6 separate regions of the Homo sapiens genome follow, and all the other regions are linked to region 1. Evidence: promoter capture Hi-C in 16 types of primary human blood cells and fetal thymus (Javierre and others, 2016). All regions are on one chromosome and are shown on one strand. The core of a region is centred on a gene start or on the middle of the fragment in contact, and the rest is flanking DNA. Distances in the headings are between cores, read along the strand shown. Region 1 holds the start of SGK1 (serum/glucocorticoid regulated kinase 1). Region 2 has its middle 22 kb from the start of LINC03002. Region 3 has its middle 21 kb from the start of LINC03002. Region 4 overlaps LINC01010 (long intergenic non-protein coding RNA 1010). Region 5 overlaps CT69 (cancer/testis associated transcript 69). Region 6 overlaps CT69 (cancer/testis associated transcript 69).

Region 1 (3,379 bases), core at 290-2,789:
AACTGAGTTTATTGTGAAATATACATGCAAAAAAATCCTTTTTTCTCACCTACAACCAATGCAACATTATTCATACTTTGAGTTGAAGAATAAGGAGTTTAAGAAATAAATGCATACAGCAACATAACCCTGAATTATCACTCAAATACAGACCTCCCACTGCTCTCTCCCAAAAAAAAAAAAAAAAAAAAAAAAAAAAAGGCAGTTATTCTAAGCAAAAGCAAAAATTGAGGCAACTTAAAATAGACAATTTTAAATGCTGGATTCCATCATTTCTGTAAAAGGTCATTCTACTCCTTTGCTATTTATACCACAGATAGAGACACAGCAAATTATTGGCTGAATGGATTTGGGAAACCAGAAGCTGCTGCTTCTGACGAACGAAGATGATAATGCATCACTTGAGACTGAGTGGATGAAAGGTGTAGAAAAGTTGAACCCTTCAAAGATGAGAGGAAGCTGCTAAATTAGCCCCTGACTAAATTACTAGCCATAATTGTACTCAAGCCAGTTCTCTTTGCGACTGCCTTGTAATCTTTGTTGTGGCTTGAGAGAGAAAAATCCCCATTCCCAGCTCAAACCCGTTTAAGGCATCTCAGCCCAACCCCCTCCTCCCAATGCAACTCTTCATAGCCCCCTGCCCCTCCTCCAACAAATTCTAATCAAGTCAGGTATAGTTCTCAGCTTTACCACTGCCATCAGAAGCACGGCTTACATTAAGGGTTTAGCAACAAAACCTCAGGCTTACTTCAGGCAAACATTCAAAAGCATTTAAGAGAAGCACAGAAAACAAAAGAAATAAGCAAAACCTGTCCTTACCCGCTTCTTAAAAAATTGGAAGGCTGAGCATTTCTTGACTGGGAATCCATTCATGTCTTTGTTTACCATTTTCCACCGTGGGGAATTCACAGTTATAGATCCAGGTTGGCACCCGCCTGGTTAGTGCATATCTGTTTCCCCGGTTTACCTCCTGCAGACAGTTAATGAAGACTGAGCGGGATGGAGAATCTAGCGGGGCTCAGTTCTTCACTCGCGCATTCTGCAGCACCAGCTACTGCAGCAACCTCTCCCCACTTTCAGTTGCCACCGACAGCGGCTTTTCTCCTTCCATCATTGCTCCGAAACATATGCATCACCGCTGCAGGACCCTGGGGGCCGGACGGTGGGATACGGCCAATCTCCGGGGAGATGCTGTGGCTCTTACCGAGCGGGAGAAGGGTACGCCTCCCCGCCCCCAGCTACCTGGCTGCTCTTCCGCGGCCGGCGCGGGGAGCGAGTCGCTCTTCTCCAGGTGATGCGCTCCTGGAGGCGGCTTGAGAGAGGAGAGTTGTTTTTGATTGTGCAAGTTCCAGTGGGAGCTGTAGTTAAGCAGCTGAGAGAAGGAGTAAGAAAGAGCAGAAGCCAGAGGGAGGGAGGGAGAACAGCGCCAGAAAGGCAGAGGGAGCGAGAAGGCGAGGCTGGAAGAAGCAACGGTTCATGAATATCTGAGCAGCGGATGGAGAGAAGGCACAGCCGGCTCAGGGCACACTGAAGAGCAGTTGACTCCCCTTGGGAGGGTTACTTTAAATAGCTTCTTTTCTTTCTTTCTTTTTTTTTTTTTTTGGTTAGGACCATTTAAATCAGAGTTTCATATAAATTGCACACCGTTTTTATTTTATGCTCATTGACATTCTTTTGAATCCTGTTGCTGAATAAAAGCCTCTCAACGGAAATGTAATCACATTTAATCTCGACCTGTCCAAACGTGGAAGAAAATGAAATAAAGTGCAAGCGTAGGTATAACAATGGAAGATCTCTCACTATGTAGAAGCTCTTTTAGCCTCCCCTCCCCTACTTGTCATTATATAGTGGGCAATGGTGACGGTAATTGTGTCTTTTTCATTAAAACAGCTTATTAAAAAAAGAACACAATGAACATATACAAAGTACTTTATTACACACATACACACACACACGAGTTATTACCAAAAAGTACTACTGAATCCATTTAATGATGAGGAAGGTTTGATAAATAAAAGAGTAAAGCATTCTTCCTATTAGGTGAAAAATTTCCCAAAAAATCCTTACTCATGTTATCCTTTGCACACTGAGCTCCTTTTAAAAAAGCCATTTAATTGTATGTGGCTTATTTTTCCATTTTTATTCTTTAATGTTGATATTTTATGGGAATGATTTTAAAGATTAGTTGATAGTAAAGCAAGAAAGCAAAGAAAATAAACTTGGCATCTGACCTGGCAGAAAGCCACCAACATCGGTGTGTGGCTTTCTGCCATCACCTGACCTCACTGTGCCTTTCGGACACTGCCTCATCCATAAAATGGAGGCAGCCACTCATTCATTCATTCACTCATTCATTTATTTAGTCATTCATTATTTGCTATTTCATTCCATTAATAAATCTAACTCTGACAAGTGTCCTCAGGATGTGGAGCCTTTTCATAATCATCACAAGGGAATATAATTGATAAATAAGTGAAAGGCGCAATGCTAATTTGAAACTGATTATGACCTCATTATATATAACACACCTAACATTGTTAAAGTATTTACATGGAAGTCTCTGGTAAGAAGAGAAACATCAGGTTAAACTGGGAAAGAAATGCATGGGTTTCATTGAATTGGACTATAAATCTCTACAGTTGGGCCAGAGTTTTTGGGAATAAACATGAAATCCTGTTTGCTAAATGCCTTGAGGTTTCCAAAAAGAAAATGCAATACAACTAAATGATGGCATGATAACCAAGGGAAAACAACTATTCATTTTGGAGAGATATGTTAAGTTGTCCAAGATGCAAGTATATGTTATGTAATCTACAACATTGATAAGTTTTTGTGGTTCTTCTAAAGAGTTCATTTAAAATTATGGTAGTTCAAAGGGAATTATTTTGAGACGATGGAAGTGTTCTCTATCATGATGATGGTGGTGGTTACATAACTATGCATTTGTCAGAACTCATCAAATTTTATATAGGAAAAGGGAAACTTTTGCTGCATGTAAATTATACCTCAATGGACCTCATTTTAAAAAATGATGGTCATTCAAGTTCTTTCTTTTTCGTCCCATTGCCACTCCCCCAAAAGTGTTTTAACAGACATTTATTGAATTTGAGTAATATACAGGAGGGGACCTTTAAGCACTCTGCTAGGAAGGAGGTGCTGGGGCTTTGCTTAATCCCACATTGGCCTAGCATGCATACTGGTTGATATCATTTGGCTGTGTCCCCACCCAAATCTCGTCTTGAATTGTAGTTCCCACAGTGAGTGATTTCTCATGAGATCTGATGGTTTTATAAGGGGCTTTTCTCCCTTTTGCTCAGCACTTCCCCTTCCTGATGCCATGTGAAGAAGAATGTGTTTGCTTCCCCTTCTGCTCTGATTG
Region 2 (3,864 bases), core at 1,287-3,786, 200 kb after region 1:
CAATGTTCTTCTAAAGATAATAACTATGGGAAGAGCAGTGGAAACATAGAATTGTTCCAAGAACAGGGCTTGGTTATCAATCCCAGGTCTGCCAATTATTTTCTGCATGACTTGGAGCAAGACAATTTAAACATTTTGGGTTAGATTACGTCTGTAAAGCAGGAGTTCCCAAACCTGGCATAAGCATCAGTCCAAGATTTTAAAAAATACACATTCCATAAATCCAACAGAAATGTCACCAAAAGACACTACGAGAATGTTCACAGCAGCACTATTTGTAATAACTCAAAACTGTAAAAAACCCGAATGTCCATCAATGAATAAAGAATAGAAAAAAGAAAGAAAGAGTGGGCTCATATGATTGGATACCATACAGTGGGGTTCAGCAAACTTTGTTCTGTAAAGGGCCAGATAGTAAATATTTCTAACTTTGCCAGCCATGTAATCTCTGTGGCAGCTAAACTCTACCACTGTAGTGTGAAAGCAGCTGTAGATAATACTGAGACAAATTAGCCTGGCAGTGTTTCAATAAAACTTTATTTATAAAACCGGAGATTGATCCCTTACTATATAGCAATGAAAACAAACTAGAACTACCTGCAATAACATGGATGAATTTCACAAGCACACTACTGAGTGAGAGAAGCCACGTACAAAAGAATACATGCTGTGTGATTCCATTTATCTAAAATTTCAGAATTGGCAAACGTAAGCTATGATGTTAAAAGTCAAAATAGAGTGGTTATCTTGGTAGAGTGGTGCCTAGTAGGGGGCCCAGAGGGTGTCTTCTGGGCTGGATTGCTTTATTATTTAATGTGAGACTGTGTTCACTTTGTGAAAATTAATCTGTATATTTACAGGGCTTGCACATTTTTTCCTGATGTAAGGTTTACTTCAATGAAAAGGTTACCATAAAGAAATATAAATATTTCAGTGTCTCACTCTGTAGAATCCGAGTTGTTGGCCAGGGGTGTGGCTTGAGGATCTATCCTAAGCCTGCCTTGAAGAAGTAAAGTGAGCTGCCTAAGGTCACGTTATTGGCAGAGCTGAGACAGAGAGCAAGCTCTTACAGTGTTGGGCATGGAGTGAGTCAGCCCTGCATTGAGAGAGGACGCAGCATCTGCCCTTGAGAACGGACTGGGAAATGGCTAAAAGAAGTCAAGGTCACATTCCGGACTCCTACCTACAATCATATTTGCACTGTCACCTGGATATGCTCACTGACTTCTGCCACCTGGGCAGCACCCAGTTCAGAACTTTGCAGATTGCTGGAATTGCTGGGGAGCTGCCAGAGGGCTTTCAGAACTCAGCATGAGTGCAGTGAGTGCGGCAGCCAGCTCCCAAAGGGGATGGCCTCAGCATAGTTTCCAGCTCTCGGCTCTCTTAACAGGAAGGCGTTGCGGTGTCGCAGACACAATCTGAAGTGGGGGTTCAAACAGACACAACTTCACATACTGGTTTTGCAACTTGCTGGCAAATGAGTGAATTTTACTCAATCCCAATTTTTCTCATCTGTAAAACAGCCATAAAATCGACCCCCACTGCCTCTTCCTCACCCCTCCCACAGACAAAGGATTTTTTTTCTCTTTTTTTCTATTCAGTCTTCACTGAACTAACATTTGCACGCCAAGCACCATTAAGTATTTTGCAAAGATTGTCTCATCTAATTCTTGTCAGTAAAGAAGTTTCATTTATGATCCTCATTTTATAGTGAAGAAACTAGGAATCAGTTGACTTAAAAATGACCTGCCTAAAGTCACACAGGTAAGAGGTGGAACCAATTTCCCACTGAAGAAGTGTGCCTGGGAGCCTGAGCTCGTAACCACCGCTTGTGACGATGACAATGCCTGGCAGTCGTCATCCTGTCTGGCCCATGGATGAAATTTAATAGAAGTTAATTCTGCATTTCCTCTTTTCTTAAAGAGCTATGAATTGGAGCTGAGGCCTGGCAGTCAGAAAACCAGGATTCTAGTGGGCTGGTAAATCACTTCTATTTCCTTGCAGCATAATGAAAGCATGGGATCAGATCACTCTCCTTAAGCGTTTCTTCTGGGCTGAATGAATTTGTACTCTCTACAGGTCTGAATGCTTGCTCTAAACAGAAAATAAGTTAGTTGTTCCCTAAAATTTTATGAAAAATTTATATTCGTTTCCATCATCTGAGTTTGTTTTGATATTTAAAACATAGATATTATGTCCTACCTAAACCTCTCTCCATGCACTCACTCACACTCACCTCATCCCATCTCGCAGTCTTGTGTGTTCCTTTACTCCAGGCACACCTAATTCATGGCTGCACATTCCCAAGGGCACCCTAGAAGGGGCACTCTCTTGGTTTGAAAAGCAGAGGTGTCAGTAGGTTTCATCAGGTCTCTGTACCTACACAATTCTATTACTCTGTTAACCTATGTGATGTGGAGGTTTATGACATAGAAGTTCTCCCCAGACTCGACCATGAACTTCCCAAACTCATCCAGAACTGAACCACCTTAAAACACGCTCTTTTGATATCTTGCCAACTTGGCAGATAAGACCGGATTTTCTACAAATTAAAAAGTGGTGATGGTGATGTGTTTGTTGGTGATGATGCTGATAAAATATGACCACTTCTTTATACGAGATGATTTCTTATAAAGGCAAATGAAAATTTTGTATCACAGTTGGAAACCACTGGACCATCAAGTACACTTGAAGGGCAAGAAAGATAAATTTACAGACAAAACTAAGGATTGTTTTTATATTATGTATTTCTCTGTCATCTGCCCACACCTGAAACCCAATTAACATTCAAGGGAGAATGAGTTTTGTTCAAGCCATTTAGAAGAGTAAAAGGAAAAGTAAATTTTAATAAGCCAGTATTTTTCTCTTGACACAAAGATTAGCAGAATTTGGGAATAATGTTTAAAATAAGTGTTATAGGCTGGGTGCGGTGGCTCATGCCTGTAATCCCAGCACTTTGGGAGGTCAAGGTGGGCGGATCACCTCAGGTCAGGAGTTCGAGACAAGCCTGGCCAACATGGTGAAACCCTGTCTCTAATAAAAACATAGAAAATTAGCCGGGCATTGTGGTGGGCACCTGTGATCTCAGTTACTCAGGAGGCTGAGGCAGGAGAATTACTTGAACCTGGGAGGTGGAGGTTGCAGTGAGCCAAGATCACGCCATTGCACTCCAACCTGGGCAACAAGAGTGAAACTCCATCTCAAAATAATAATAATAAGAAGTTGTTATAATATATGGAATGTATATTGCAGCATTATATTTTAAAAACAAACCATTACAAAAACACTGTTAATTTTGGAAGGCACATTAGCCAGTAGGGTTGAAAGATTTAATGTTCCAGTAATAGGAGTTTGGAATTCCAAAACACAGAGAAATTGTCACTTTTATTGTTTTGCTTAGTCTGGTTTTATTTCAGGAAGTTAGGAGACACTGGGCCCGACAGCGCAGATGACAAGCCGTGATGCAAATGCTTCCTATCTATGAGACAGGAAATGCTCTCAGACCCTGCACGTAACTCCCTGCAAAGTTTGCTCTTTGTTTTTGGTACATCCATTTGCTTCTTTGTGCTTAATTCTATGTATTGTGTACAGATGAGACAAAGAGAAAGCTGCAGTTATAGGACAGTATATGCCTTCTAAAGAAATTGCTCTTACATTATCAAGGAACAAATGAAGAGGTTTACTGATTTATGAGGAGACATTTGGTATAAACTGAAGGACTTGCTACAGTAGCCATATAAAGGACCTCATAATGAAATTTTTCAGGTCACACACACACATACGCACGCATGTACGTATATGCACATATACAATTGTTTTTCAAGTGGTTTCAGATTTTTCAAATGCAGTCACTAAAGATCAATT
Region 3 (3,668 bases), core at 24-2,523, 240 kb after region 1:
TAACAGCCCAGTGGGAAGCATTGCTCGTACAATCTCTCCAGAGTTTGGCAGGACCCATTCCATGCTATGGTGCCTCACTTTTAAGTAACGTAATAATCTCTAGCATACTTTTATTTATTTTTTTTATTTCCGTAGTTTTTTGGGGGAACAAGTGGCATCAGGTTACATGAGTAAGTTCTTTAGTGGTGATCTGCGAGATTTGGGTGCACCCATCACCTTAGCAGTATAAACTGAACCCAATTTGTAGTCTTTTATCCCTCACCCACTTCCCATCCTTTCCCCGAGTCCCCAAAGTCCACTGTATCATTCTTATGCCTTTGCATCCTCATAGGATGCTCCCACTTATGAGTGAAAACATGTGATGTTTGGTTTTCCTTTTCTGAGTTACTTCACTTACAATAATGGTCTCCAATCCCATCCAAGTTGCCGCAAATGTTAATTTATTTGCTTTTATGGCTGAGTAGAATTTCATCATATATATATATATATATATATATATATATATATGATGTACACCTATATATATATATATATATATATATATATATATATATATATCACGGTTTCATTATCCACTTGTTTATTGATGGGCATTTGGGCTGGTTCCACATATTTGCAGTTGCGAATTGTGCTGCTATAAACATGTGTGTGCTAGTATCTTTTTTGTATAATGACTTCTTTTCCTCTGGGTAGATACCCAGAAGTGGGATTGCTGGATCAAATGGTAGTTCTAGAATGCTTATTGAGAAGAGAAGAATTTCATGTAATTGGTCCCAATTCTTAAACTAAAGCTCATTGTTAGACTAAACTCTTTTACTCTTCTACCTACACATAAACCTATTTGGCTTTTTGGCATAACTGTAGGAAATGGCAAGCTACTGGCAGAATACTGTTCTTTGACCCCACACAGAAAATCTTTGGAACTGCCATTGATTAAATCCTGTGTCTCATGTTTTTTGTTGTAGTTGTTGTTGCTGGATTCATACTATTCAGTGCAGTGCACAGTGATAAACCAGCAGAAATATCTAAGGTACCTTATATGATATTATTGAGGACAAAAATTAATACTCTCCCTAGTATTTTCATAACAGCCACATTTTGTCTTTTCCTGTGTAAGAAGTGTGCCAGCATACCATTTCTAATCAGAAACCAAGCCCAGAGGCCTAGGATTATGGGAACAAACCCATTTGCTTTATGAGGTTTGCCAAACCTTGTACTTGTTACAATGACAAACCTGCTACTATGGAGAGAAGAGCAGTTGATAGCTTTTAACTCTATGAGTCTTTTTTGCCTGGTGGATCCAGACATCTCATAGTCTGTAGAATACCTTAATGCTCTCAGACAGGATGAAGTGACATTAATTTCTTTATATGACAGGTAAACTGAGGCATTTCTTGGATTGTGAAAGTTCTGAAAATTGTAGTCCACTTTAAATAACAACAGCTAGATGTTTTGTACTAAATAATGCATGAAAGAACTGCTATTGTATTTGCAGCTAAACAGGTTTGGACCTATTTGGAGATCGTCTGGGCAATGAACTGAGCCTACTTGCCCTTTACAGATTCCTCCTCTACAAAAATAGCCAGCTGCAAAGTGTTGTGGTCTTGTCTACATTCAGGCCCATATCAGCAAAAGCACCTACAAGAAAATAAGACAGCAAAAATAACTGGTGAAAAAAAAAGATATGTGATCTTTGGGGGTATCAGACATGTTTACTTGCGGTTTCTTTTCTTTAATCCAATAAAAGTATTGGCATAGTGTTTGGTATTTGAGGCATAGTAGTGGGAGTACTGTCACGATGTAACTAAAGATGGTGGGAAAACCAGTTTGAATAAAATGAGATCCAACTTGAACCTTTGCCCGTTCCTGGAACTAAAGTCAAGTCAACCCACTGTTAAGTGTCAAAAACGTTGAGTCACTAGCCTCCTTTTTGTTCATCTGTTTCTGAATATGTGTATATGCCTGCTTTTTTTTTTTGTACTCTTAAAAAATAGACTTGCTTGTGGCATTCGGTATGCAATTCTCAGCTTACTACATCCTCATGAAATTTATTTTCATTTATTTATTTATTTTTATTTCAATAGTTTTGGGGGTATAGGTGGTTTTTGGTTACATGGATAAGTTCTGTAGCAGTGCTTTCTGAGATTTTGGTGCACCTGACACCTGAGCAATGTAAACTATACCCAATATGTAGTCTTTTATCCCTCACTCCATTCCTACCCAGACCCCCAAAGTCCATTATATCATTCTTATGCTTTCACGTTCTCATAGCTTAGCTCCCACTTATAAGTGAGAACATACGATATTTGGTTTTCTGTTCCTGAGTACTTCACTTAGAATAATGGCCTCCAGCTCCATCCGAGTTGCTGCAAAGACCATTATTTCATTCCTTTTTATGGCTGAATAGTACTCCATGGGTCCTCATGAAATTTAAATTTAAAGGGATAAATATGAAATGAAAGTTCTCAAAACATATTTATAAATTTTGATGTTTTCATTTGATTTCTGCTACACTTCTTAGGATCTGTCTTTTGTATGGGTTTTGGAAACTGCTGTGAAATCTGCTTCATTAGGTTTCATTTCAGAGAACATTAGAAAGTGAAACATACTTTTAAGTACCAGTCCCAAATCCATTAGTCTTTAATCTTTGAGTAACTAATTATTCATTCCTGTAAGATAAAGCCTAGGCTTTCAGCTCATCTCATTTTGTCTCTCTCCTCACTTACTTTACATGAGAGCACTGCTTTTCCAGCTTTTTTAGTTCCTTTGAACCACTTTGAAGAGTTAAATTACTTCCGAGACCATCTATTCTGGTCTCAGATAATCACTGCTATAAAAACTTACTAGATTTAGTAGAGGGAACTGAACTGTGCCAGAGAGAAACTTAAGAAGAAAATAGCTAATTCATGTCAAAAATAGAATTGTAGTTATTGACATATTATATCTGTTAATATACCACGTAGCCTGTCCATTGATCACACTGATGAAGCCCTTCTGAAAGCATACTGCCCATTAGAAGGATGAATACGTCTTCAAAAAAGGGAAGGTATAAAGCATTTAGGACATCAGAGGAGCTCACTCCATTTTTTAGAAATAGGACCATATATTGTGTATTTTTTTAAGCAAATTAGGATACATTGAAATACTCCTCCCCTTACACACACACACACACACACACACACACACACACACACACTTTTTCAATATTCTTTTGGTCAAAATAACTGCAATGATTGTTTGTGAAACCTTCCCCAACTGCCCTAGGCAGAATTTGTAGTTCCCTCCACTGTGCTTTCTTAGTTCTTCAGACATCCCTCTATTATGAAATTTACATTTTTATATTGTAATTATCTGTTTGCATTTTTGTTCTCTTCCTCTCCAGCTGAACTATGAAAGCAAGGACCATATCTTATTCAGGTTTGTTCCTCAGTGCTCAGTACATTATAAGTGTTCAATAGATGCTTAATGGATGTACAAGTGAATGAGTGAATTGGTGGAACGCCCATGAGTCAGATTAGGTAAAGACTGAGTTCTCTTGGAAATCTTCCAAACTACCCACCTGCCCTCTGCAATTGAGGATAGTGCTCTGCACCTGTGACATATGTCATCAACCACAGCCACCATTTGATTTCCTCTATATTGAAAGAGACTCCCCATTTAAAACAGGG
Region 4 (3,553 bases), core at 731-3,230, 170 kb after region 1:
ACTAATTTACATTCCCACCAACAGTGTAAAAGTGTTCCTATTTCTCTGGAACATCACCAGCATCTGTTGTTTCTTGACTTTTTAATAATCACCATTCTGACTGGCACAAGTTGGTATCTCATTGTGGTTTTGATTTGCATTTCTCTAATGATCAGTGACGTTGGGCTATTTTTCACAGATTTCTTGGCCACATGTATGTCTTTTTTTGAGAAGTGTCTGTTCATATCTTTCACGTATTTTTTAATGGGGTTGTTTGTTTTCTTCTAAGTTTGCTTAAGCTCCTTGTAGATTCTGGATATTAGGCCTTTGTCAGGTGGATTAAGAGTTAGTTTTCCTCTTCCTTTTCAGTTCTTACACTACCGATTTTCTTCTGTTATCTAATGGCGAGAGTTAACACCTCCAATGAAACATTAAATACCAGTGGTATAGTGGGCATCCTTGTGTTGTTCTGGGATTTCTATTTATATATCTTTTTCATGTTAGCAAAATACTTTTCAAGTTCTATTTTATTGAATTTTAAAAATCAAGAATGGGCATTCTGTTGTATCAAATATCTTTTTAGTATTTGCAGAGATGATTTGTGAATTTTCTCTTTAAATCTCCTTAAATTTGACAAATTGTATCAATTGACTTCATGATGCCAAGTATTCTTAGATTTACAGAGTAAACCCCACTTGATTATGGTATATTATTTTTATTATTATTATTATTTGAGACTGGGTCTTGCTCTCTGTTGCCCAGACTAGAGTGTAGTGGCATGATCATAGCTCACTGCAGCCTTTATCTCAAGCTAGCTTCCTGCCTCAGCCTCCCAAGTAGCTAGGACTACAGGTGCATGCAATCATGCCTGGCTAATTTTTTTTTTTTTTTTTTTTTTAGAGATGGAGTTTTGTTACATTGCCCAGGCTGATCTCAATCTCCTGGCCTCAAGCAATCCTCCTGCCTTGGCCTCCCAGTGTGCTGGGGTTACAGGCATGACCCATTGCACTTGGCCAGTGTATTATTTTTATAAATGTGTTATTTGATTCTGACTGTCATCATATTTGAGATTCTTCTGTAGTTTTCTTTTTTATGTAAATTTTAAATCATATTTTGTTATTAATATTATACTTGCTTCATACAAAGAATTTTGCTCTGGTCAATCTCAATAGCATTTAAATTGCATGCTCTTTAAAGATTTGATAAGATTCTCCTTGGAAACCTGACGTGGTTCTACACATTTTACGTTCTAGCCAGTAAAGGAATCAGTGAGGCTGTTATTTGACCTAAAATTTTGATTTTTGCCAAAGCCTATCTTGCAGAAACAGGTATCATCAGAGTCACATACTGAAAGCCAAAATTAAAGAACAAATCTAGAAAGTGGCAAGCAATAAAATGACACATATATATAAGAGAACAGTAATTCAGTTAATAGCTGATCTTATGAGAAACCACAGAGGCCAGCAGGGTAGAACAACATCTTCAAAGTGCTTCAAGAAAAAGAAAGCTGTCAACTGGGAATTCTATACCCTTCAGAAATGAAGGAGAAAGAAAAACATTCTCAGATGAAAGAAAACTAAGACGATTTGATGCAAGCAGGCCAACACTATGAGAAATGCTAAAGGTAGTTCTTGAGGTTGAAGAGAAATAAAAAGAGATGGAAACTCAGAACCATGAATAAGAGTGAAGAGCACTAGAACTAATAACCATCTGGGTGAACAGAAAATGCTTTTTTTTTTTCTCTTTTTTTTTTTTTTTTTGAAACGGAGTTTTGTTGCCCAGGCTGGAGTGCAATGGCACAATCTTGGCTCGCCACAACCTCTCTGCCTCCCAGGCTCAAGCAATTCTCCTGCCTCAGCCTCCTGAGTAACTGGGATTACAGACATGAGGCACCATGCCTGGCTAATTTTGTATTTTTAGTAGAGACAGGGTTTCTCCATGTTGGTCAGGCTGGTCTTGGACTCCCAACCTCAGGTGATCCTCCTGCCTTGGCGTCCCAAAGTGCTGGGATTACAGGCATGAGCCACCGTGTCTGGCTAGAAAATGCTTTTTTTTTTTTGCTTTTTTATCTTAATTTTGTATAGTCAATATAACTGTTTAAAGCAATCTATATCATTATCTTGTGGGGTTTCTAAGATATCCAGATGTGATACATGTAACAACTAAGGATAAAGGATTAGGGGGAAGTCAATATGGATCTTACGGAGTTGTAAGTCTTCTACATTTTGTATGAAACCATAATGCATAAATGTAAGTGGACTGTAAGAAGTCCAATTCCTAAAGCAATCACCTACATAAATAATGCCAAGAAGTATAGCTAAAAAGCTAATAGGAAGAATAAACTTTAATTCCAAGTATCTAAAAAAATAGGTAACAGGAACAAAGAAACACAATATAGAAGGAACAAATACAAAATAATAAAATCGTAGGCCCAATCATAAATATATCAATAAATACATGAATGCATTTAATCTAAACACTCCAATGTAATCTAAACACTCCATTTAGAATATAGCGATAGTATGGATAAAAAGCAAGACCAAAATATATGCCATTTATAAGAGTTGCACTTTAAATATATAGAGAAAAATAGATGGAAAGTATATGGGTGGAAAAAGACTTACCATGAAAACAGAAGGTGTAAGAAGACTGGTGTAGCTATATTAAAATAAGATATAAACAAAATTTTAAAGATAAAAGTATCACCAGAGATAAAGAGGGACATTCTATAATAATAAATTTGGCAATCCACTAGAAATACATAACAGTAATAAATGTTTATGTGCCTAATAACAGAACTTAAAAATACTGGAAACAAAAATTGCCATTTCTAAGTTATAATTAGAGATTTTAATGCCATTCTCCCAAAGATAAAAGAACAGCTAGACAAATTAAATCAGAAACACATAGCTCTTTACAAAATTATCAGCCATCTTGATCTACTCGATATTTATAGAATCCTACACCCAACATTTGAAAGAATACAAAAGATGCATTTTTTTCAAAAGCAATGTGGTATATTTGCCAAGATGGATAATATATTCAGCCATAAAACAAGTTTCAGTGAAGGATTCTAAAATAATGAAATCATACTTAGTATGCTCTTTGATCATGATGGGTTTAAATTTGAAACAAATAGAAACAAGATATCTAGGAAAACCCCAAACATTTGGAAATTAAACAACATCTCCTAAGTAACTAATGAGTTAAAGAAAAAAATTGCAAGAAGAAGTTAGGAAATATTTTGAACTGAGTGATAAAAATGCAACACACCAAAATTTGGGGGATGCAGCTAAAACAGTGATTGAGACAAATCTATAGGTAGATCTTTTTCTTTCTTCTTAGATCTTTTTCTTTTATGAAGAGGTATTAATTTATACATATGAGATGTATAAATTAAAGAAAAACAAAAATATCTAAAATCAATGATTGACATTTCAACCTTATGAAATTACAAAAAGAAGCACAAAAATTAAGCCCAAATAAGTAGAAGGGAGAAAATAATAAAGGTAGCAGAAATCAATGAAAGGAAAATTGGACAAGCAATAGAGACAGACAAAAACAAAAACTTGTT
Region 5 (3,405 bases), core at 316-2,815, 130 kb after region 1:
TGAAGAACTTGTCTGTCACACTCCTGATACTTTCTCTAATTAGTCCTGGCTTCATATATATGTGTATATACACACATATGAAATACTCTTTCATGTATATATGAAAAGACTATTTAGAATGATTATTTATACTGCATATAATTAAGTAGGGCTGTGTCCTGGTCTATAATCACTAGAGACACCCTTCTGAGAAAATACTCCTGACTTAACCACACAATTTATTCTACATTGTAGTGCCTTCAGGGATACACCCTTCTGGAGTACATTAGTTTTCTCAGACAGACCAGAAATGATTACCAAGGGAGGAACCTCTTCCAATAAGCCCTCTTTTCATTTCTTTGATATGTGTGCATCGATCCCTAAGTCCTCATCTGGACTGCTACCTTAATTTGCAGAGCCCAAGTGAAAACACACACACAAAAAACCCTCAAAGTCCCTTCAAAAAGCAGGGGTGGTGGTGGGGGGGAGGTGTGGAAGATTTCCTTTCTTTCTCTTTTGGCCTGTCATGGGGTCTCTTACTTGCTATTTAATTTCATGCTCTCTTTGATACAGGGGTATTCACAGGGTGAGTGCAGATGGTCTCAGGTAGCTCAGGCCTGCCCAGCCACTTGGTGCATGGGGTGTGTGCACCCAGCTTCCACGCCCCCTGCAGGCCCAGGCCCCTGCCTGCCCAAATGGCTGTAGTCACTGGAAGGGGGTTGGGGAGCAGAGAGTGGAGGGGTGGGAGATAATGAGAGTGGATGAGGAAGCTCCTCACCCCCTGTTCCATTGTCCTTCTGGACTTCACTTACAAAACACAAACTCCAAGATTAAATTGTTATGCATTTTAAGGGGATTCACCCATGAAAGATGGGCAACTCTCCTGTTATAAAAGAAGTCCACAGAAGGCTCCATAACTTCTGTGCCAGGTCAATAGTGCTCTGATTTCCTTTCTTTCTGCCCCCAGTGATTATCCAGGGACTACAGATGGGGTCAGCAGCATGCCCAGTCACCTGCATTGCCTAATGAATGGCTGACTGCCTCAGCATCCCCTGGGCAGAGGTGAGGAGGACTTGTTTACAGCCTGATATGGTTAGACTTTGTGTCCCCACCCAAATCTCATCTTGAATTGTAATCCCCACGTGTTGAGGGAAGGAAGTGATTGGATTATGGGGGTAGTATCCCCCATGCTGTTCTCATGATAGTGAGTGAATTCTCACGAGATCTGGTGGTTTTATAAATGATAGTTTTTCCTGCACTCTCACATGCTCTCTGTTGCCTACCACCATGTAAGACAGGCTTGTTTCCCCTTCTGCCATGATTGTCAGTTTCCTGAGGCCTTCCCAGCTACGCAGAATTGTGGGTCAATTAAACTTTTTTCCTTTATAAGTTACCCAGTCTCTGGCAGTTCTCTATAGCAGTGTGAAAACAGACTAATACACAGCTTAATTCTGGATTTATCTTAGCCTTCACTCCTCAAGCAGTCCAGGCATGGTGGCTCACGCCTGTAATCCCAGCACTTTGGGATTGATCCCTTGAGGCCAGGAGTTTGAGAACAACCTAGTGAGACTTCATCTCTACTGAAATCAAAAATTTAAAAAAATTAATAAAATGTGAAGCTCCCACTCCATAGTTTAATGACACATGCACTATTATGTGGTTTTACTTTTCTCATGGAAAAGCTATACATTACAGAAAATGCAAAACATCGAGAACAGAAGAAAACAAATCACCAGAATTGCCATCTTACTGTCCAGAAATAATTACTTAGCATTTTAGCATATGTAGTTTGGTCTTTTTACATATACGGCTATGGTGCATATGTTATTGAGATATTGTAAATATTGCTTTAAAACACACTTTCATTCACTCAATAATACACCATGAATATCTTCCATATATTATTATTAATCTAAAACATTATTTGAAAACTTTTGGGTGCATACCACTCACCTGGGAGCATGTGGGAAATAAAGATTCTGAAGTCTCTCACTCGCAGAGATCCTCATTCATAACCGCAGATGATGACTCATAAATCTGATATCTGCCTTTTGAAGAAGCACCCCAGAAGATTCTGATGGAGGTGATTCTCAGAGCTTGCTCTGACATACACTGATCTACAATATGCTTTTAAAATGCTGCACTGTGTTCCATCATATAGGTGTGCCATAATTTATTAAACCAGTTTCATATTGTTCATTTGACATTAGTTTCTAAATTTTCACGTGCATGATTAATTCTTCATATAAATCTTTCTGAACATCTCTAATTATTTCCTTAGGAAAATTCTGCAAAGTGGAATTACTGGGTCAAAGGGAATGTAAACCTGAGCAAAGTAGATGGTAGTGTGAATGAAAAAGCAAATCAGTAAGCTGTAAAACACTACACTAATATGATAGAACAGCTGCCATTTATTGAGGGACTTTTGTAAACCCGGCCAGGGGTTCTTAAATTTTCTTGTGAATCAGAATCACCTGGATGGCTTGTTAAAACCAGGTTGCTGCTACCTTCTCTCCATCCCAGTTTAATTCATTAGGTCTGTGATGGGACTGGGAATTTGCAATTCTAAGAAGTTTCCAGGTGATGCAGATACTGGTCCTAGGCCAGGCCACACTTTGGACACCACTAGACACTATTCTAGGTGTCTTATTAAACTTCACAGCAGTCTTTACAGTTGATGATTGAGATGCAGAGAGGGTCTAAGGTTATGAAGCTAATGCTGGCAGAGCTGGGATTTGATTCAAAATTTGATGATTCAAAAGCTGATGGTTTTCCCACCAGGCAACCTGGTTTCTTCATTTTACTGCCCTCAAATAAAATATTTTAGATGTGTTCCTAACAAGCACTGAAGGTTTCAGTGTCAGCGCCACCCCTCCCCCACTCCAATCTATTAGGGATACATAAGGGAGGAGAGAGGTTAGGAATTGTTTGGCTGAGAAATTCCTCAGGGGAAACTGGTTGGATGAGTTACACTCCACCATTCACATCAATATGAAGGGTTGCCTCCCTGTCCTGCTGTGGCCTCAATGACATGTGGACATCAAGAGAATAATTTCTCATCTCTTACTGCAACCACATAATAATCCTTCCTTGGAAGAGAGATCTGTCTTCTCTAAAAACCACCTCCAACCTTCTCCACACAATGGCTTAAATAACCTGTTTGTTCAGGCAGCTCAGAAAACAAATTTCATCAGTGCAGAAAACAAAGCACTCCTATCAAACTGGTTGGTTAATGATACCCAGCACAGCAAACACCCAGCGGATTGGCAGAACGTGAGCCAGGTTGGCTTCTAACAGACCCAGCTTAAGACGCCCAGAATCACCAAGTGAATCAGACACATTTCATAACTAAAGACACCTGAAGACCTAATTATGCAAATTTTACCTGTTTGTTAGCTTGGGATCTGGCCGTCCTGCAGTCTTTCC
Region 6 (3,625 bases), core at 344-2,843, 150 kb after region 1:
AGTCAACAGACAACTATGTGCCTGGCACTGATCTAGGGTTAGGGCCAGAGGAGTAAATAAAGCAAACAAAGCTTCCCCGGCACTTACATTCTGGTTGGGGAGGAAGAGTGTGCAGGAAATAAAGAACAGGCTAACATTTAATATTTCTAACATATCAAATGGCATGTTAGAAGATGATAAGAATAATGGAAAACAGTTTACTGCAACAGAGTTTTCAGAAGGGATTAGATTGCAATTCTAAATATGAATAACACAGCAAAAAGCAAAAAAAAAAAAAAAAGGATTTTTTTTGGCTGGTACACATGGGTATTAGTTTGTACTCTTGAAAGCTAATGGAATATCCATAGACCCTACTATACTAAATTTTAAACTCTAGGCACTGCAAAACGAGAATACTATCCACTTCTTCACACACATTTGTAGCCACCTTTACATTAGAGGCACCATCTGTAGTTATGACTGGTCTCTTTTTTCCCTGAGGTATGATCCTGTCTTCTTATCATTCCTGATATCTTCTTTCACAATTGTGCCCTAGGTAATGGTGCTCAGAAAAAGAAGCCAATCAGGAGATCTGTTTTCTGTGCCCTTTTAACACTTCTAACTCAGGCACCCAAACCAGCCTGTAGCAGAAAGAGCATCAAAGCCATCCTCTGGACTCTACACAAGGTCTGTGGATATTCAGTTAGCTTGCAAGAGTGCAAACTAATACCCATGAGTACCAGCCAAAAAATACCCTTTTTTTTTCTTTTTGCTGTGTTATTCACATTTAGAATTGTAATATGACCCTGTCAGAAAACTCTGTTGCAGGAAATTTTTGGAAAAGAACATGTAGCTTATCTGTGTCTATGAAGTCCTTGTTATTGTGGGGAAAAGAAAAGAAAACAAAAACATCGACAGCTATATATTTTCTTTTTATTACTTACTATCATTCCAGACTAAAGTGGGGAGCCCCCTTTTTTTTTTCCAGAAACATAGCAGCAGCAGAGATGTCGCTATTGTGATCAGAATTACTTTGGTAGGTGTGTTTTGGGTTTGATTTACTTTTTCACATTTGTCTTTCTGTTTATATAAAATATTTTCCTAGGGAAAAATACATGCTAAAGTTAAACTTCACATGAGTTAACTACCTACAAATTACAGCTGTTAGCCATTTTTAATAAAACACTATCCACTGCACTATAAAAACGGACTTCATTTTCATATTGTTAATGTTATTCCACTGAACAGTGCGGTTAGAAATCCCAGAAGCAAATGCAGTACAAATTGTAGAGCAGCTGTGTAGAGGTGACTTCTAATCATAATTGAACACAAACGAGAACAAATAAATCAAGGACGAAACTTCTCAACTTCTGATGCCTGGCAATGTCAGTTTTAAAGCCAGATACATACCAAGTGCCTTGCAAAAAAAAAAAATTACACAGCAGCTAGAAGAGTGACAGCAGAACCCCCACTCTTTCTGGGAACACTCCCATATACCAGAAGCACAAGGACTTTAATTTGAAACCTGATTACATATTTGAAATTGCTGGTGTTCCTGACTTTAGCTTCTTGGCAGAAATGCCAGCTGAGTGTGCACATAGCACAGGTGGTCGATGGCAAACAAGACACCTCACAGCTGCAGGCAAGGAGCTGCTTCTAAGGGCATACAGTCTGGACAGTGCCAAGGCAGATAGGCATCATACAAAGAGAGAGGACAGGCTGCAATTTGGGGGTTTTGTCATTATTGTGTGTGTTTTAAAATATATCAGTGCATTTTTGAAAGTTGATTGGGGTCAGATTTTCAGCTGAGGCCTTATTCTTAGGAAATAGCATGATGGCAATAAATGTCAGCCTTAGCTAGCGACCCTTAAAAAGCTAAACTGGAATAAAAATAATAACTTGGCAAAGGTTCCCATATGCCGCACTCCTTCTTTTGTGCTCTTCCTTTGTCCCGAGCCTGCTTTGCCACACATGCCACCTTCAAGCACTGTTTTTAGGGAGAAGAGACCATTCTCCCAGAAAAGGGAACAGCTGAGAAAAGAACCAGCCCACAGAGGGAGCAGGGACACTCCTAACTGTTTTAAAGCCGTGCCGCAGGGTCTATGAGTTCGCAACAAGAAAACGTTTTCTTGTTTCTACCTTACCTAAGTCCAAAAAAAAAAAAATCACTGTTTTTTTATTAGCCGTTTAGTCCTAAAGAGTGCCCTTAGTGATAAGACAGTGCTTCTGGAAGTTCCACATAACTGCTTTTCTTTACCCACATGCAGAAGGCCCAAGAGTTGCAGAATCAGAACAGTTTGTGTGCTTTTCCATGTTCTAGCTTATGTATATGACAATACTAATCTTCCATTAAACAGGGTGTCTTACCCAGTCTGCAGTGCTAAGCATGTGTCGGACTGGAAGATATTGTTCATAATAATCTTTTTCTAAGTACCATTTAAAAGAAAATGACTTCCATTATTTAAAAAAAAAAAACCAACTAGGAAATATCGTATTTCTTCACAATGAACCATAGCCCTTTTTCAGATGTCCTTTGGCATCTCAGTTTTAGGAGTTATACAAGTCTCTAGCCTCACTGTTCATTGCCCTGACTTGTGCCTGAGATGTTTTTAGTCCTTCAGCCAGTTCAAATCAGGAATGAGATGCATTTGATCTGGACTTCTTCTACTCTGCCAAGCAGATAATCCCCTAACGACTGGTCAGCATTTTCATCCCAGAGAGTCAAAACTGACCTTTCAGTAGCAGAGGTTGCTTTAGGTTTGTGCAAAATAACGTTAAGGACAAATTCCCACTTTTGGGGCGCCACCGCCGTCCCTTTCATTGCCTGCAGTTTCTAGCATTTATTTTCCAATGTGGACACTGCAAAACTGTGATTCTTCAAAGTGGTTATTTAGTTCCTAAAACATTTAGAGTTGGGGCAAAATTTGCATAATTCTATTAAAAGGCTTACACCTCAGCTTTGAAAAATATTTGAGAAAATGTGATTTATGGGGGAAGGAAGTCTTATCTTTTGGCCCAGAAGGTGTTTCATGGAACTAAACCTGTTAATGTTAGGATTGCCTGTTAAGCACCAAAAAGTAAAAAAATGGAGGTTAGAAGCCTTTCTTTTATCTTCGCTTCAAGTCTGCAGTAGTTTGAAGCTTAAGATAGAGAAGGATTTTAGGGCGTTTTTTTTTTTCTCACTGCATTGCAAACTTGGAAACTGGAGTCCTGGTACAGTGATGGGAAACACAGGTGCATTTCTGTAGATTTTAAAATAGGATGTACTGGCTCTTTTCAATTGAGGACAGTTCATTTTGATGCCGTTACAGAACTTGAGACGATCTGCTTTAGATCAAATTTGAGATTCTGTCATCATGTCTATTTTTGTTGTATGATGCTGCCTGTCACTCATAGGTTGACAACAAGTCTGACATTTTCCTTCTTTCTTTCTTGCTTGCTTTCTTGCTTTCTTTCTCTCCTTCCTTCCTTCTTCTCTCTCTCTCTTCCTCCCTCTTTCTCTTCTCTTTCCCATTCTTTCTCTCTCCCTTTCTTTCTCCCTGTCTTTCTTTCTTTCTCTCTCTCTCTCTTCCCTCCCTTCCTTCCCTCCCTTCCCCTCCCCTCTCCTTCCTTCATTCCTTCCTTCCTTCTTTTTCTTTCTTTCTTT

What was found. Contacts are between HindIII fragments. The CHiCAGO score rates a contact against its expected background, and 5 or more counts as called.
Region 2: a contact is called between a fragment that was not itself captured here and the fragment with the promoter of SGK1 in region 1, in 1 of 17 cell types (neutrophils). The highest score is 9.1, in neutrophils.
Region 3: a contact is called between a fragment that was not itself captured here and the fragment with the promoter of SGK1 in region 1, in 1 of 17 cell types (neutrophils). The highest score is 8.4, in neutrophils.
Region 4: a contact is called between a fragment that was not itself captured here and the fragment with the promoter of SGK1 in region 1, in 1 of 17 cell types (neutrophils). The highest score is 10.1, in neutrophils.
Region 5: a contact is called between a fragment that was not itself captured here and the fragment with the promoter of SGK1 in region 1, in 1 of 17 cell types (neutrophils). The highest score is 5.8, in neutrophils.
Region 6: a contact is called between a fragment that was not itself captured here and the fragment with the promoter of SGK1 in region 1, in 2 of 17 cell types (activated CD4 T cells and neutrophils). The highest score is 5.5, in activated CD4 T cells.

The regions. Positions count from the first base shown.
Region 1 is chr6:134,316,573-134,319,951 of GRCh38, forward strand. SGK1 (serum/glucocorticoid regulated kinase 1) reads right to left here and starts at 1,540. Exons shown (of 14, transcript NM_001143676.3): 1 at 820-1,540. The coding sequence starts at 888. RefSeq lists an enhancer at 1,088-1,367. The HindIII fragment of the contact is 10,717 bases long and covers 1-3,379 here.
Region 2 is chr6:134,516,179-134,520,042 of GRCh38, forward strand. No RefSeq gene overlaps it. Among named protein-coding and RNA genes, the nearest start is that of LINC03002, 22 kb to the right of the region's middle. The HindIII fragment of the contact is 8,422 bases long and covers 1-3,864 here.
Region 3 is chr6:134,559,305-134,562,972 of GRCh38, forward strand. No RefSeq gene overlaps it. Among named protein-coding and RNA genes, the nearest start is that of LINC03002, 21 kb to the left of the region's middle. The HindIII fragment of the contact is 4,904 bases long and covers 1-3,668 here.
Region 4 is chr6:134,486,756-134,490,308 of GRCh38, forward strand. The region is part of intron 2 of LINC01010 (long intergenic non-protein coding RNA 1010); the gene reads left to right. Among named protein-coding and RNA genes, the nearest start is that of CT69, 9.6 kb to the left of the region's middle. RefSeq lists a silencer at 873-1,084. The HindIII fragment of the contact is 5,752 bases long and covers 1-3,553 here.
Region 5 is chr6:134,451,089-134,454,493 of GRCh38, forward strand. It overlaps CT69 (cancer/testis associated transcript 69), which reads right to left. Exons shown (of 5, transcript NR_125852.1): 3 at 3,365-3,405. All of the region lies in intron 1 of LINC01010 (long intergenic non-protein coding RNA 1010), which reads left to right. Among named protein-coding and RNA genes, the nearest start is that of LINC01010, 15 kb to the left of the region's middle. The HindIII fragment of the contact is 7,211 bases long and covers 1-3,405 here.
Region 6 is chr6:134,467,279-134,470,903 of GRCh38, forward strand. All of the region lies in intron 2 of CT69 (cancer/testis associated transcript 69), which reads right to left. All of the region lies in intron 2 of LINC01010 (long intergenic non-protein coding RNA 1010), which reads left to right. Among named protein-coding and RNA genes, the nearest start is that of CT69, 9.8 kb to the right of the region's middle. The HindIII fragment of the contact is 3,048 bases long and covers 70-3,117 here.